Linked DNA regions of Homo sapiens: region 1 is linked to region 2. Evidence: promoter capture Hi-C in 16 types of primary human blood cells and fetal thymus (Javierre and others, 2016). All regions are on one chromosome and are shown on one strand. Each heading gives the region's core, a stretch centred on a gene start or on the middle of the fragment in contact. The rest is flanking DNA. Distances are from core to core; before and after follow the strand shown. Region 1 overlaps CDADC1 (cytidine and dCMP deaminase domain containing 1). Region 2 holds the start of ARL11 (ARF like GTPase 11).

Region 1 (3,081 bases), core at 206-2,705, 340 kb after region 2:
AGCATATGGTAGACCCACAAATATTTATGAACAAATTGAATGGCAAAAATCTAACCTTCAAAAATAATATGCTCCATCTATTAACACAATTTTCATCACCTGATCATTAAAATTCACTGTATATCCTTTCTCCTCAGCAACAAAGTTCACCTCAATACATAAATACTTACTTTCTCTCCTTTCAGGCTCATTTTGTTCAAGACCATAAGCTCCTGATGGATTCAGCTGCCACTGTAAGAGTGCACAAACATTTTACTTGTTTAAAGAGGATTTAATACATAGCATTCCAGCACATTGATTTTAAATATCAAAACAACTTCTTAAAAATGGAAGAAAAATGGCTGGGCATAGTGGGTCACACCTGTAATCCCAGCACTTTGGGAGGCCAAGGTAGGTGGATTACCTGAGTTAAGGAGTTTGAGACCAACCTGGCCAACATGGTGAAACTCCGTCTTTAATAAAAATACAAAAATTAGCTGGGCGTGGTGGCACGCGCCTGTAGTCCTAGCTACTTGGGAGGCTGAGGTAAGAGAATTGCTTGAACCTGGGAGGTGGAGGTTGCAGTGAGCTGAGATGGTGCCACTGCACTTCAGCCTGGGTGACAGAGCAAGCCTCCATCTTGAAAAAAAAAAAAAATTAAAAAAATAGAAGAAAAAGAAGTTAGCATGTTCAAATTAACAAAGCCCTAATAACGCCACACTGAGTGATCCTGAATGATATAACTTCTGGGATCCGAATCAATACTCTTAGAGAAGTTGAAGATTCTTTACATTCATTTTAATTGGAAGTAAGTGGAAGACCAGAGGATTGGAGTGACTTGTCTCAGGTTACACCCTAACTACAGGAGGCAATAGAATTAGAACCCATGCCCAGTACTATGGAATTAACATCGCATTGTATTCTATCTCCAGGTCCTAGAGAATCTTATAATAGCTAGAAAAGGCCTAGGTATTAAAGAATGAAAATATGACCAAGATAGGCCATGCACAGTGGCTCACGCCTGTAATCCCAGCACTTTGGGAGGCTGAGGTGGGTGGATCACGAGGTCAGATAGAGACCATCCTGGCTAACAAGGTGAAACCCCGTCTCTACTAAAAATACAAAAAATTAGCTGGGCGTGGTGGCCGGTGCCTGTAGTCCCAGCTACTCGAGAGGCTGAGGCAGGAGAATGGCGAGAACCCGGGAGGTGGAGCTTGCAGTGAGCCGAGATTGCACCACTGCACTCCAGCCTGGAAGACAGAGCAAGACTCTGTCTCACAAAAAAAAAAAAGAAAAAAGAAAAAAAAAAGAAAAGAAAAAGAAAATATGACCAAGATTACCTTGCCTTTTAATGTTGTTATATCATAAACTATTACCTGCATCATATCATTTTATATCATATCATATATCTCCTCTGATTACTGTATTTCATCTCAACCATTCAGGAATAAATAGGGAAGCCTGAAGATTCACAGATATTACATAGAATATTGGGGCAGGAGAAAATAAAAATGGAGAGTAATCGGTATCTTATAGCACAGCCCTTCTTTTCTCAGCTGGATAGAATCTCTATCAGAATCACTAATGACTTAACCAAAAGGCCCTGCTAGGGCACCATCTCAGGACACAAATATGGATTACCCGGGAGCCTCTTCCATAAGCATCAGTTCACTCATCAGATTAACTAGTTAACATCACGAGCCTTGAGGGGGGATGAGATACAGGACAAACATTTTACCATGTATTAAAAGTCCCTGGAAAGGGAGGACATCTAGAAATGGTTGGTTATTTAAACGAATGGGATGGTTTAGGCTAGCACCAAGAAAGAGAGAAGACTTAGAAAGGGTAGGAAGCTACATGAGAAATTACCAAAAAAATGTTTAAAATTAGGCATTTTTTGAAAGACGTCAAACCACTAAAACCTATTAATTTGGGCAGACAAAGTAAAAACAAGTAATCCTGAATTTATGTTTAAGGACATTCATAAAAAGGCTTCTTATAACTGTAAAAACTTAGAAACAATCCAGGTGTCCAACAACATGGGAATGGTTAAATAAGTTAGGCCTATGGGTTGGAATATTGTGTTAAATTATTTAAAATATTTTTTAAAGAACTTTTAGTGGCAGAAAATACAGCAACATGTTAATTGTGGTATCTATGAGTTGTGAGATAATACACGTTCTTTTTTATTTTCCTAGTCTTCTACAATGAGCATATACTACTTTCATAATAAAAATAAGTAATATAACCTAATAGAGAAAAATCCACACATATTAAAGAGAAAACAAAGAACTGAGTATGTGGACATGGATATAGATTGATAAAATCTATTCTTGGAAACAGTGTTGCCCAGTCCTAGCCTGGTTTGTGACAACACCACAGAATAGAACTACTTATCTCAAGGTCTATGGTAACTTATCAAAAAGGAAAGCAAAAAATCTTTCAAAGTAATTTCAATTTGCTTTAATCTTAAAAACAAATACCAAATTTATTGACACACACTATTTTTGATAATCTTGGTACTGAAATTCAGATTTAGAACAAATTCTAGTTCATGTTAATTACTTGCATTTACAAAACTAGGTATCTAGCTAACCATCTACATAATATTTGCAGCCAGGCCAGATGAGAAGGATGAGAAGATGGACAGCTCATCTTCACTGGAGGTAGAACAGAGAACAACCATGAACAACAGCCTTTGGAACATGTGCCTGAGTGAGGGTATTTCCGGGAGGGTCTGGCCCAACTGGGTGCTTCCTTTCCCATCTCTGCCCCTGAAGATCCCCTTAGTCTTCCTGCCTCCTTCTGCTTCTCTTGCCCTTTCTTAAGTTCTTCTGATCTCTTCATTCTCTTTACAATTGAAAAGCTATTAAAATCTACCAGTAAGCAAGATATTTCAGAATTCTCCATAACCCATCACTCATAGTCCTTAATCTTTATGATTAAGTCACTTAATCTTTATGAGGAGAACTTGAAAAACCTATTTATTCACACTCTTCAGGAGGAATGAAGAGACAGAAAACAAAAACACGGAAGTAGAGATTTCTCTGACTAGTTGGATATAAGCTTTTATTGAGTTTTACAAAAAAGGTATCTTTCCCA
Region 2 (3,088 bases), core at 277-2,776:
TGAGGAGTTAAAGCAAAGAGGCAAAATGAAGTTCCAGTCAGACAGAGCTGGTTCAGTAGAAATTACAGAACGATGTCTTCAATTCTTGCTGGTCTGTGGCTTCTAACCTCTTCTCCTCCTATAAGCCTAAATGCTGAAATGGAAGCTAAGCTGGGTTCCATGCACAGAGTGAGAAGGATGGTTCAGCTCACGGTGACCTCTCTTTAGAGCTTCCCAAGGACCAGTACTATGTCTTGGAAACACAGTGAGGTGTCACTTAATGACGGGGACACATTCTGAGAAATGCTTCATTAGGCAATTTCATCATTTTACAAAATCATAGATTGTAATTACACAAACGTGGATGGTCTAGTCTACTCCACACCTAGGCTATATGGTATGGCCCATTGCTCCTGGGCTACACACCGGTACAGCATTCCTGTAATGGGTACTGTAGGCTATTGTAACACAGTGCTAAGTATTCGTGTATCTAAACATAGAAAAGGTAGTGGTTGCACCACAACACTAAGCTGAAAAATAGGAATTTTTCAGCTCTGTTATAATCTTATGGGACCACCGTTGTATATGTGGTCTGTCGTTGACTGAAATGTCTTCATGCAGTGCCTGACTGGGGCTATTTATAAATACTGTTTACTGGGGGCAAATTTATGAGTCAGAGCAAAGCAGTTTCCTCCACTGTCTTACCAAGGTCAATGACTTCTACAACACTCCACATGTGCTTTTTTGTTTGTTTTTGGGTTTTTTTGTTTTGTTTTGTTTTGTTTTGTTTTGAGACAGGGTCTCACTCTGTCGCCCAGGCTGGACTGCAGTGGCATGATCACAGCTCACTGCAGCCTCGACTTCCCAGGCTCAAGCCATCCTCCCACCTCAGCCTCCCCAGTAGCTGGGACTATGGGCATGTGCCATCACACATTTTTGTTGTTGTTTTGAGACAGGGTCTCACTGTGTCACCCAGACTGGAGTGCAGTGGTGCAATCTTGGCTCATCACAACCTCTGCCTCCCTGCAACCTCCGCCTCCTAGGTTCAAGGGATTCTCCTGCCTCAGCCTCCCGAGTACCTGGGATTACAGCTACTACTACCACCCAGCTACTTTTTGTATTTATATTAGAGACGAGGTTTCACCATGTTGGCCTGGCTGGTATTGAACTCCTGACCTCAAATTATCCACCTGCCCGGCCTCCCAAAGTGCTGGGATTACAGGCGTGAGCCACTGTGCCCAGCCACATATGTTTTTAAAGAATCCCAAATTTTAAGACATAAGACCTGTTCCCAACTTAGACGATGCCTGCGTGGAACAGAGAAGAGACATCTCAACTTCCGGGAATGGGGGTGGGGGGATATGAGCTGCCTCTGGAAGGAGGTAAGCCTCTACTCATCCCTACTCCCAAGGGTAGAAAAGTAAAAAGTTAAAATTACCTCTGTGTTACTATTAGACTGCAGCTGTGAGATCCTGCGTGGCTCTCCTCCCCTATGGAGCTGCTTTCTGCTGGCCAGGCATGACCCAAGAGCGAGATGGGAAGGAAGCAGAGCAGCCGTTGCTGCTTCTCCTTTTTGTGCTTCCTTTTCCCAGGTGGCTGGGGGGCGGGGCTGGTGTCACGGCCCCTCCCTCAGCCCTAGGGCGCCTCAGAGCAGTCATCTTGCTGGGCTTGCCACAGAGAGGTCCCCGGCTCTGCAGGTCCTGGCAGAGCAAGGCCCAGTGACAGCTCCATTTTTTAGCAACTCAGACTTGGGTGCCTGAAGGAGGGAGCACGAGCTCGGAGCTGTGTCCAAGCGCAGCCGCCTTCTCTCTTCCCTCAGGATCCTCTGAGCTCCTCGCAGAGAATTCTGACCTCTTCCTTTCAGTACATGCCTCAAGGTTTTTCTGGTGGCTAGAGATTCTCTGATTTGCTTGGAATCACACATGGTTTGTTGTTGTTGTTGTTGTTGTTTTGTTTTGTTTTCTATTTGAGACCGAGTCTTGCTCTGTCGCCCAGGCTGGACAGCAGCCTCCGCCTCCAGGGCTCAAGCGATCCTCCCTCCTCAACCTCCTAAGCAAGTGGGATTATAGGCAGGTGCCACCATGCCCAGCTGATTTTTGTATTTTTCATAAAGACAGGTTTCACCATGATGGCCAGGCTGCACATGTGTTCTTTTAAAAGCTGCCTATGGCCAGGCGTGGTGGCTCAGGCCTGTAATCCCAACATTTTGGGGGGCTGAGGTGGGTGGATCACGAGGTCAGGAGTTCGAGACCAGCCTGGCTAACATGGTGAAACCCCGTCTCTACTAAAAATACAAAAATTAGCTGGGCGTGGTGGCACCTACCTGTAGGCCCAGCTATTTGGGAGGCTGAGGCAGGAGAATGGCATGAACCCGGGAGGCGGAGGTTGCAGTGAGCCCAGATCACACCACTGCACTCCAGCCTTGGTGACAGAGCGAGACTCTGCCTCAAAACAAAAACAAAAACAAAAAACAAAAAAAGCTGTCTACATATGATGAAAACATTCTTTAAAAGGTATGTATGATGCAGATCAACCTTTAAAATTGTGTTAATGTAGTGATTAAAGTTACCGTTCAATTTTTTCTTGAATGGTGTCACTGTGTTTTTCCCAGTAAAAATGACACCTCTAGAAAATGTAATTTTTAAAAAATTGGCTAGTCGCCGGGCATGGGGGCTCATGCCTGTAATCCCAGCACTTTGGGAGGCCAAGGCAGGAGGATCGCTCAAGCTCAGGAGTTCAAGACCAGCCTGGCCAATATGGTGAAACCACGTCTCTACAAAAAATAATAAATTAACCAGGCATGGTGATGTGTGCCTGTAGTTCCAGGTACTTGGGAGATTGAGGCCCAAGAACTGCATGAGCCCAGGAGGTGGAGGCTGCAGTGAGCTGAGATCACAGCACTGCACTCCAGCCTAGAAGACAGAGTGAGACTCTGTCTCTCTCCTATTTTTTTTTTTTAATTGAGATGGAGTCTCGCTCTGGCGCCCAGGCTGGAGTGCAATGGCACAATCTCGGCTCACTGCAACCTCCGCCTCCTAGGTTCAAGCAATTCTCCCACCTCAGCCTCCCGAGTACCTGGGATTACAGGCACGTGCTACCATGCCTGGAT

Evidence for each region. Contacts are between HindIII fragments. The CHiCAGO score rates a contact against its expected background, and 5 or more counts as called.
Region 1: a fragment that was not itself captured here is called in contact with the fragment with the promoter of ARL11 in region 2 in 2 of 17 cell types (non-activated CD4 T cells and naive CD8 T cells); the score reaches 6.0 in non-activated CD4 T cells.

The regions. Positions count from the first base shown.
Region 1 is chr13:49,283,372-49,286,452 of GRCh38, reverse strand. It overlaps CDADC1 (cytidine and dCMP deaminase domain containing 1), which reads right to left. Exons shown (of 10, transcript NM_030911.4): 9 at 171-231. Among named protein-coding and RNA genes, the nearest start is that of CDADC1, 37 kb to the right of the region's middle. The HindIII fragment of the contact is 3,185 bases long and covers 1-3,047 here.
Region 2 is chr13:49,626,945-49,630,032 of GRCh38, reverse strand. ARL11 (ARF like GTPase 11) reads right to left here and starts at 1,526. Exons shown (of 2, transcript NM_138450.6): 1 at 1,418-1,526. RefSeq lists an enhancer at 1,225-1,274. The HindIII fragment of the contact is 16,861 bases long and covers 1-3,088 here.